Linked DNA regions of Homo sapiens: region 1 is linked to region 2. Evidence: promoter capture Hi-C in human tissues and cell types (Jung and others, 2019). All regions are on one chromosome and are shown on one strand. The core of a region is centred on a gene start or on the middle of the fragment in contact, and the rest is flanking DNA. Distances in the headings are between cores, read along the strand shown. Region 1 overlaps VWA8 (von Willebrand factor A domain containing 8). Region 2 holds the start of KBTBD7 (kelch repeat and BTB domain containing 7).

Region 1 (5,416 bases), core at 1,000-3,499, 720 kb after region 2:
CTACACAATGTTCTCTATGCTGTAAATCTATTACCTCTTCCTACTCTGATATCAAACATATAATTAAAAACTTAAAAACACTTTGGGTTTTTTCTTTACATTTTCATAAATCTCAGCTTAATTTGGCCACAGGCATTCTCTATAGTACTCTCACAGTTTTGTGTCACTTTGTATTCAACTTTGGCAATGTGCCTGACCTTCCATTATCTGGACTTGATAATTTAAAATCCAAAATTTGTAAAGTTCTAGAAGTTCAAGCCAAGTTGGTTTCTTTAACTTCCTCCCACCTTTTATTATTTATGACTATTGGTAACTGTTTATAATTATGGAGTCTCAATTTAGTTCTATACTTCCAGTTTGTTTTGAATGTTTTGACCTTGGAACCATAATCATTTTCAAGATTTTTTAAAATCTAAGGTAGCAGTTCCTAATCAAATGTGAGGCCTGCCCCTCATAAATTGTCTGTATAATAAAGTGCTGATGTTTAGGAATAACTTATCTTTTCATTTTTTGAAGCAAACTGGAGCAGAATTGAGGTTATAGCCATAATAGAGACATTTGTACAGCAGTGTACTTTCTTAAGTAGAAGAGAAAAGCATGGAGTTATTTAAAGCTAGAGCCCTGGGAATTATGTATAATCATGTTTATGCTCCTGGGAGTGTCTTCCACTTCAGCATGATGCACATGTACTGAGAAACACTGCCTTAAGGCACATCTGACTAGTCTCAGTCCTTCCTTTATTCTTAGCACTCAGCAGTGGTTCTCAACTGGTGACCATACTGCTACCATTCTAGGCCTGCCAGGAGGCATTTGGAAAATGTCTGGGAGTACTTTGGGTTGTTGTAAAGCTTTGGGAAATGAGAAATAATTTGGTACACCACTGATATTTTGTGATGGTAAATGCAATGACCAAGATGGTCTCATCCTGCCCAGTATGTCAATGGCACCATAGTTGAGAAATATTGTGTAGTCATTATTTTTTCTCAAGGCCTCTGTTGCCTGCACACCACTAATGAGTTTGTCACAATTAAGCCCAGAGAAAGAGTTTCTCTCTATTTCCTTTACCTTCTGAAAGATAAAACTTTTAGCGAGGAAATCAGTAGAGAATAAGTTCTACCTTTAGAGTAAGTCTGTAGGAGTTGTCAGGATATCTAAGGCTCTCATCATCACATTCCAATTTTACATAAGTTTCTTAATACATATAAGCTACTTCTGAATCCCATGGCTGGCCTTGTAGTCTATGGCATACCTTCACAAAGAAAATACATTTTCCCTGCTTTTATTCTCCCTCAATAACAATACTAATAATGGCTATAATTTATTGCATTCCTATCAGGTACCAGGTAAACATACAAACGATTTTTCACATAGGATCTCATAACAATTCTAGAAAGCAGCAGACCTATTGTATAAAGACACAGATTCAAGACAGATTGGCTGGGTTCAAATTCCAACTCTACTATTTACTAGCTATGTAACCTTAATCAAGTTATTTAACCTCTCTGCTCAGTTTCCTCATCTGTATAATAGATACAATTGTACTTACTTATAAAGTTGTTATGAGGATTATATTAAGCACTTAGAACAGTGTCTAATAACAGTAAATGCTGTGTTTGTTAAATACTCATTACTCCCATTTTACAATAAGAAAATCAAAATTGGAAATGTAGTATCATTTGTCTATAGCTGCTAAGTCCATAAACCAAGATTTATACCTAAGTTGTTTAAGTCCAAAACTTGTATTTCAGTCATTATGTTCTACAGTCCCTCCAAAAGCTTTTCAACAGGTGTCCAGCTTCAGGTGCAAGACTTTCCCTACAAGTGTGGACCTCTCAGGGCTACATCAAATTTAGCAGACTTGCTGTTCCAGCCATTAGTTCTACTTCTTTTTGGTGGTATCAATGGTATGTTTTATTCCTTTTATTAAAATTTCAAAGTTATTTTGTAATGAATATTATGTTATCAGAGGATCTACTTCTCAAAGAAAATCCAACTTTCACTTATTCATGTTTTAGTATAGCGTATTTTACCAAAAAGCATGTCTATATTTAATTTGTCAGGAAATTGCACTAAACTACTGAAAGAAAGCATCATGCAGTGCTATGTGGTATCTGTGGTATATTTTACATTAATGCTTGAAACTAGCTGTATTTTTAGAATGGCCTCAAGAAAACATGAGTCATACTTAAAAGCACGCCAGAAATAGAAACAAGATTCAAGACTGTACATTACGAACATCTGCAAAACAAAGTGCCAAACTGCCATGCATAACCTAATATAAACATAGCACAGTACACGAGAGAAATCCCCAACTTCAATGTTTTCAGGCACAAAATGCTACCTTCCAGGAGTCCACATAATAATAAACCGATGTCAAAATAATCCCAAAGAGCTTGATCCTATATTCTAAGATTCCTTTTCTATGTAAAGATAAAAACATGTAGTTCATACTGGCCTAAATCCCTGATTCAATTCCTAACCAATATTTGTTTTCAAAAAATATGTACTATTTTTTGCCCAGCCATATTCAAAGGCTTTAAAGTAATTTTATCATAGTTATCTAAATTATAATTTTCTCCCTTCATGAACTCAAATTTTCATACATATAAAAGTTAAAATTAAAATTCTAGAAAATTAAGCATAGGTCAGATTCTATTATAATAAATCCTTCAAAACTGTTGATGTTTTCTTAGTATCCCAAAAAGCAGCATAATATAATGGAGGAAAAAAAAAAGTCTTTGAAGCCAGACAGACCTACTGTGATTTTTCATCCTGTCTTTTATCCATGTCCTTAGACAAGCATTTTGACTCTTTCAGGTCTGTTTCCTTATTTTCTTTTTTAAATTTTTTAAATTATACTTTAAGTTCTGAGATACATGTGCAGAACACGCAGATTTGTAGTTTCCTTATTTTCAAAATAAAGATAATAATACTTATTGAGTATGGTTTGTGAGGATTATAGGTAAAGCACCATGCCCAGTCCCTCAGCCAATGAGAACCAGGTACGGGAGAATTATTCAAGTCTCATCCTCACCTGCAAACTCCTATCTCTGCTGTGTACCCTGGACACCAGGCTGTATAGTGTGGATTTGGTGGATATGAATAGGCTCCTGAGTTTACACTCAAATTACCTGCTGGGCCTAGAGGCAAATCTGAAGAATAAGGGAGAAAGGAACCCAGTACTTACTACATCCTCACTGGTAAAGCCTATGTTAGAGTACTTTCACTTGACATTTCATTACCATTTCATCACCCCACAAAATAGCTCAGAAAGAATCTACATCTAGGCCCATAACATGCCCCTGAATTTGATTTTTCTACCACATCACAACACAAGATTTCAAAGGAAGCATGACTAACCTCCTCACTGCAACTACGTGCTCATCTGCTAAACTTTCCCCTATTTACCATGTAACATTCTGTAGTTAGATATAATGGACATGAAGGGTGAAAATATTTAGCACCAAAGTCCTCATTATTTACAACACGAACTAACTGAACTAAAAAATTAATTTATTCACACAGCTATATTTATTAAGGACCTACTATATGCTCAGCACCAAGAATACAAAGATGAATAAAATAAGGTTCTTTGAAGACATCAAAAGAAAAATACATATATAAAACATCAGCTTACGTAGCTTATATAAAGCCAATCATTTATAAAGTGGGCTGATGTTTCTATGATCCAATATAGCTGTTATCAAAACTAAATCTACAGCACTGGCCAGCACAGTGCTCAGCACAGAGAAGATATTCAGCTTTTCTTAAAATTGGAAAAATTCATCAATATGTATGAAATAATTATACATATCCATATTCAATGACTAAGTGTCATGTTGTTCACTTTTTGTGTAAGGGTACAAAAATAAGAGTATACATGTATATTTGCTTGTGTTTGTATAGAAAAATGCAAGACAGATTCCCCTGAAACTAATACTGTGAGAATTAACATGAATGAAAATAGGGGTGAATATATAATTTCTCAATGTATATCTTTTTATATTGTTTTGATTTCTGAATGACAAAAATATATTAGTTCTGCAAAAAAGTTATTTTTTTAAAGTCATGCTTTAGAAAATATTTTACATAAGGAAATGTCCACAATATGTTGCTTTATGAAAATGGTCTGTACATACAAAAGTATGGTCTGCAAATAAAAAAAGGTAAGAAAACATTCTGTATATACAAAATAGTATATACAGTACATACTATTATTTTCTTAAATGATACACATATACATAGTCATTTTTTAAAACACTAGATACGTTTCACAAAGATTCAAGCCATACAAAGTGTGTTCTCCGACCAAAATTAAATTAAATTAGAAATTAGTAATAAAAAGATCTTTGGAAAATCTCCAAATATTTAGAGACTAAACAGCATAATTCTACATAGCACATGGGATCATTGCTAAGTGGTATCAGTAAGATGGCTGACTTGAAGTTCCTAGCACTCCTCCCCCATAAAAAAACCAAGCCAAACAAATGAAAAAACGACATTTCCACCAAAATAAATAAAGGAGAGCCCTGGAGAACTGCAAAGGAGTAGGAGAAATCCTGTAGAGCACAGAAACCCAGGATGGCCACATAGAGAAGGAAAGGAAACTTTGCCTCTGCCAAGGATGATCTCAGCCCCTATTTGGGGATCAGCTTGGACCCAGGAGGTATTTCTCTCTGCAGGAAAAAGGTAAGCAGAAGGACACTACCAGCTCGCATCACTACTATGGATACCTGCAGTCTTTGCTACCAGAGATTCCTGCAGTCCTCACAGGCTCTGAGCCCAGCTGAGGGAGCTCCCCAGAGTACACATTCTGTGCTACTCCCAGAGAACAAACCGACACTGTGCCTTACCCCAGTCCCCTGCCTGAGCTGCTACTGTGTTGTAACCAGAGCCACTGCTCCAGTGCATCCTGTTCCAGGGATGGGTAGTCATTGCACCCCTCCATCCTGGAGGCTTTGCCATCACTGCAGCACAGCTACCTGGTAGCCCCCAATCCCTGAATTTAGCTACTGCTATGCTCCAAGTTACCCTGAAGCTGCTCCATCCCCTGCATCCCAGACATTGGTGTACCCTGCCCTTCAAGGCCTGAGCTGAAGTGATGCTCTCACTGGGGACCCACAGCATCAAACTACCCCCAGACACCACACCCATGCAACATCCTATCCTCCTGGATGCCCCAACCCTCCAGCACACCAGAGAAGATGTCCTACCCAGTGCCATAGCCGACACTGTACCCTGCCTCTCAGGGACCTAGCACCTCCTCCAACCCACGTAGCTGTATATTTTAGGGCCAAGCTGATACGGCATCTTACTTCCAGGGAATCACAGCCTTGGATGAGCTGTGCCTCTGCCCTACAGGTCAAATGGCCAAAGGGCCTTTCCTCCCTAGAACAGGACTAGGAACTCAGAATCT
Region 2 (5,562 bases), core at 1,991-4,490:
TGAGTCAGTAAAGCATGTATTGGGCATAAATTAAAAACACAAACATAAAAAGCAAGTTACCGTTTTTTTTTTTTTTTTTGGTTTAGAAGGGTGTTTAATTCATGACATTACTAAGAATGGGTGTTTTTTGGGATAGAAAATTGGTCACATATACCAAATACACATTTTATATTCCAAAATAAAAACTGAGATTTCTTTTAAAACAGTGGAATCCTGATTTTTTCTTTTTTTTTTTTTTTTTTTTTACTTTCTGTGAGCTTATGAGGCCATTCTGCACATTATCAAAATGAAATCATTATGCAGTAACCTTATATATATAAATCCAATTTTTTCCTTTGTAGAAGAAAACCAAAATAATTTTACAAACTACATTTAACTTAGAATATAAAGAACTGACTAGTGTAAAATTTTGAAAATCTACCACTTTATTTTGAAGGAAAGTACACATCCTTCAAAACCCCGCTAACAATTCCTAGTTCAGTTTTCTATTATACAAATCAAAAAGTTAAATTCCTTGTGGCACTAACCAAAACTTAAAAATTAACAGAAGACTGAATTAATTAAAAAAAAAGCATACTAACTAATCAAAACAATCCACTGTGCAATGAATATTTGAACAATGAAAAAAACCTACCAAGCATCCTAATCAATTATATAGTTCTTGCTTCCATATTTTAATTCTGGACTTTCAGGATGGTAAATTATTAAACAGGTCGATTTCATGGACTGTCTAAACCTTGTAGTATTTCAAAATATTACCCTTTCTAAACCAAATCTGTGGTCCTAATCAACTTTTTTTCCAAGAAAAAGAAACGATATGTGTTTAAAATACATTCCGTAGCAGTAGAAACATCTTAGTGTCTCAAAATACTATTTACAAAGAACCCTGCTGATCCTGTGCATTTCGCTGAGGTGCTACTTGCACCCAGACTTCATCATCTGAAAAAGAACTTGAACTTCCTGACTCAGAGTCCAGCTCACTGAATCCATCTAAGTCCCATTCAGTACTAGACTCACTCCGTGCATCATCTTCCTCAGTAATAAAACTCTGACCAGGTTCAAGGCAGGAAGGATAAACACGAGCACAAAGGCAAATAAAGCCAGAGTCAAACTGCAAAAGGCCTAACATGGTACCTATATTAATCCACTGATCTTCCCTAGTATCATACTCATACACTGTCACTCGGTTCTTTTTCCATTGTGGGGTTGTAGAAGTGATGAGAAGCAACTTTTGGTCATGATTGACAATCTGGTAGTTGTGGGTCTCTGAATCCAAAGGAATATTACTAATCCGCCTCCATTCTCCCCTAGCTGGGTTGTAGACCTTCATGACTGGGATGTCACAGATACAATAGATTTCATCATTGAAGACACATGCTTCCTGAAAGTCACTACGTTTAAGAGAAGCACAGTTCAGCCACATATTGTGGCTAGGATCATAGCAAAGCATGCGCTTACTGTTGACAGCATAAAGATAGTTCTGAACCACTATGAGTTCAAAGGAATAGAAGGAATGAGGGACAGGAGCCACCAATGCCCACTGGTTTCTCTGAACACTGTAGCATTCCACTTCCTTCAACTTAACTCCAGTAATAGGGTCTCGTCCCCCCAAAATGTAGATGTAGCCATTGAGATATGCCACATCCATGCCCTCACGACACAGCAAGCGATCTGCAAGTTGCTGCCAACTATTCTGAGCTGGTTTATACACCCAGAGGTCTTTCCTGGGCTGAGCAGCTAGATAGATGTCATGGTCTGGGGACACACAGACAGCTGAGGAGGTGACAGTCTTAGTGTGAGCAAAGCTGGTCAAAGGGGATGGCATTGTGTAAATGTCCCCCGAGTAAGGGTCATAGCAGAGAAAGGGATCTCTAGGATGTCCAAAGAAGATCACCATCTCCTTGGCACACATACCCAGTCTCTGGGGTGGATTTTCTGCTGCAGATACAAGAGAGTTGCTGCTGCTACTGCTGCTGCTGCTGTTTGGCACTGGCACCAGAGACTTGTACAACAGGTCACCATAGCGCATCTGCAGGGCCCCTTCAATAACGTCCAGGCAGTACTTCTTCACGATGGGCTTGGTCAGCAGCCCTTCTAAGTAGTCCTGATCTTCTTCAGTGAAGTGCATCCAGCGCACGCACTTGAAGACTTCTGCAGCACTGGGACCCCGCTCTTTGGCAGCAGCCTCCAGCCACTGCACAGCTACATGGCATACAGTCCGCTCACTCTCTATGTCCAGACTATCCAGGCGTAGGACAGCCAGCAGCTGGGCCAGGGTTAGATCTGCTAGAGTCTCCTCCCGAATTGAACCCATTCGGCTGAGCTGCTTGAAGTTGTGAGCTATGTAGGACTGGGCCTGAGATCGAAGCTTGTGATGGTCGAAGGCGTCTGCAAACTTGAGGATGGCGGTGCAGTTGGTCAGGTCAAGACGTCGGGCTAAGAAGGAGGCACAGGCTTCCCGCACATATTCCAGCTGTAGCATGTCGGAGGCCGCGTACAGGCGCTGCACATTGGCCTCACTGAGAGACACACGACCCGTGTAGCAGTAGTCGACCAACACCTCGAAGGACTCGGCGTCCACATCGTGCATGGTCACGCTGGCCTGCTGGCTCTCGTACATGCCACCTGTGAACATGCTCTTGAAGTAGGGACACGCAGCTGCTAGCACGTTGCGATTGCAGGAAAAGAGGCGACCCGTGCCAGGCCCGCTGCCAGGCGTCACCACCTCGATGGTCACATCACACAGCAGCCGCGCGTCGTAGAAGGACTTGAGCTGTGCCAGCAGGGCTGCAGAATGGGCCGTGTCCTTTAACTCCTCTGGACCCGTGAAAAAGGCCGAAACCGAGGGCTTGGAAATCCTCTTGGGCCGCCTCCCACCACGGGGACTGGCGAGGCGGCGAGAGCGCGGGACGTCTTCCCGGGACTGCATGGTGGAGATGGCGACGGGCGCTGACGGCGAGAAAGGCTGCAGGACCAGGCTCTGGCTCCTCCTCAACCTTCCCTCGCTGACGCTAAGACAAGCCGCGTCCTGGAACAGACTGCGGCACGGGCCGCACTTCTGAATTCAGCCCTATCCCGCGGTGAGGCCTCCCTTTATTGCATAGACAGTGGCTGACTCACCCTCTCTCACTCCCGCGCCCTTTCTCCGCCTCCGCTCGCCCTCACAGGACCCGCTGGCTTGCAGCCGCGGAAGCCCCCACTGCCGCGCTGGCGATCCCGCTAGGCGCCCGGGAGAACTACTGCTCCCAGGTTGCCTTTCGCGCCCCGAGGCCTGCTGGGGCTCTCGGACGGCCGGGCGGGGACAGAGGGAAAGAAACCGCTTTGCATGTTGGGAGTAGTAGTTTGTGTAATATCGCGAGCTGTCCTTTAGTTGACTGCTCTAACAGTAGAAATTAATTCTCCTGGATTTGATGGTGAAGAGACTGTTGCCCAGGCTGGTCTTGAACTCCTGAGGGCTCAAATTATCCTCCTGCCTCGGCCTCTCAATGTGCTGGGATTACAGGCGTGAGCCACCGCCCCCTGCCAGTATTTCATAGGGTTTTGTGTGGTTCAATGATACCTTACATGGGATACTTAGATACATGTATGTTTTTGGTTAGAAGAATAGTAAAGCGTTACCCCGTGCCTAGAATGTAGCCAATAACTGTTAGATTCTCTTTTATAATTTATGATAAATGAGGCACCCACTAATTTGAAACCGAGTATTATTTTAAACCGCAAAATTTTACAAAGAATTTCTAGTTTTTAATGTTTATTCCTTCGAAAGATTTTGAAGGGCATTAACAATATTTTCAATATTAAATGATATCTATTGGTCTCGTTTAATAAGGATGTCTTAGACGACTAGGTTGAGGTCCTAAAGAACAGTATTAATAGATGGTCTCAAATACGCAAATCCAGCATATAAAAATAAATTATTTGCTGCTCTCACTAACATTTCATCTCTGGAGAGCAGGAGTATTTTCGTTAAGCTCCAAATATGAGTGTTTTCAAGTCGTCTAATACAGCCTCTTTCACTGCCGTTCCACAAATCAATTAACAGATTATGTAATTCCCTTTATTAAGGAGTTTTAGGGAGTATTTTAACTCAAAATATTTCAACAAACAGACTTTGTTCTGTACAAAAGCACATGATTCTCAGAATTCAACATCAGTACATGCCCTGACATTCCTTGAATTAATATATAGTATAGTCTATGCTTTACAAAGTCTTTTATATTTGCATTGGGATCAACAGTTAAATCATCAAAATCAAGTATTAGAGATTTGAGGCAGGAAAATAGGGTCTGGAGGCAGGGAACATAAGGCTGATTCACACTTTAGCTATAACAGGAAAGATCCTCTCCATAGGGTGTATGCTGAGTAAATGAGTTTGTAACTTTACTTCATTCTCTTCATTTACATAGGGTGTACACCAAGTAACCAGTGGAATCCTCTAGAGGGTATTTAAACCTTCAGAAATTCTGTAACAGGGCCCTTGAGCCCCTATGCTCAGGCCCGCTCCCCACTGTGGAGTGTACTTTCATTTTCAGTAAATCTCTGCTTTTGTTGTTTCATTGTTTCCTTGCTTTGTTTATGTGTTTTGTCCAATTTTTTGTCCAAAACGCCAAGAACCTGGACACCCTCCACCAGTAACAGACTTTTTCAGATAACTTTTATTACAAAACCATGACTGCTCCTGCTGCTAGTTTGTTATGTTACCATAACCTAATAAAGAAAATCATCAGTGTTACATGCATGTATGGATAACACATTACAAGAGAATAACTTTCAAATTGTTTTTCTCTTATCAGCTGAAGATAACTTCAACTTATCAGCTGAAGTCCACTGGAAATACTCTAGGGTAGACACATTAAATTAAGTCAGCCTCTGGGCTCTAATAACTCCTCTGTAAATAAAAAGAGATGTTAGATATCCCTCAGATACACCAGAGAGAATCAAGTCAGTCATTATCAGTAACAATGATTGTTTCCTGACTTGCAGTGAATACCAGCTGGGGAAAAAAGCCTTTTTTTTTTCTTTTTTTTTTTTTTTTTTGAGATGGGGTCTTGCCCTGTCACCCAGGTTGGAGTGCAGTGGCACCATAATAGCTCACTGCTGCCTCAAACTCCAGTGCTCAAGCAATACTTTGCCCTCAGCCTCCCAAGTAACTAGAGCTATAGATGCATACCACCACACCCAGTTAATTAAAAAAAAATTATAGACAGGGTCTCACTGTGTTGCCAGCCTGGTCTGGAAATCTTGGTGTCAAGCACTCTTCCTGCCTGAGCCTCTGAGTTGCTGCAATTACAGGCATGAGCCACATGCCCAGCGCAGGAATGGCCATTTTAAAAAACTTCTTAAAATATTGGTAAAATATACATAACACTAAATTTACCATTTAAACATTTTCAGTGTATAGTTCTTTAGCATTAAATATATTCACACGGTTTTGCCACTATCACAAAACTGAAGCTCTGTACCCATTTAAACAATAACTCTCTAGCCCCCACTTCTGGCAACTGCCATTCTACTCTTTGTCTCTATGACTTTTGACTACTCTAGGTACCTCATATAGGCAGT

The links. The method cuts DNA at HindIII sites, captures the fragments that hold promoters and counts their contacts. A contact is called where the count stands out against the background at its distance.
Region 1: a contact is called between a fragment that was not itself captured here and the fragment with the promoter of KBTBD7 in region 2, in 1 of the 25 tissues and cell types used here (dorsolateral prefrontal cortex).

Annotation. Positions count from the first base shown.
Region 1 is chr13:41,914,583-41,919,998 of GRCh38, forward strand. All of the region lies in intron 2 of VWA8 (von Willebrand factor A domain containing 8), which reads right to left. Among named protein-coding and RNA genes, the nearest start is that of VWA8, 44 kb to the right of the region's middle. RefSeq lists enhancers at 2,114-2,193, 3,303-3,422. The HindIII fragment of the contact is 3,772 bases long and covers 364-4,135 here.
Region 2 is chr13:41,191,329-41,196,890 of GRCh38, forward strand. KBTBD7 (kelch repeat and BTB domain containing 7) reads right to left here and starts at 3,241. Exons shown (of 1, transcript NM_032138.7): 1 at 1-3,241. The coding sequence starts at 2,929. The coding sequence ends at 875. The region is part of intron 3 of KBTBD6-DT (KBTBD6 divergent transcript); the gene reads left to right. RefSeq lists enhancers at 1,983-2,690, 2,691-3,397, 2,742-3,011, 3,322-3,411. The HindIII fragment of the contact is 7,226 bases long and covers 1-5,562 here.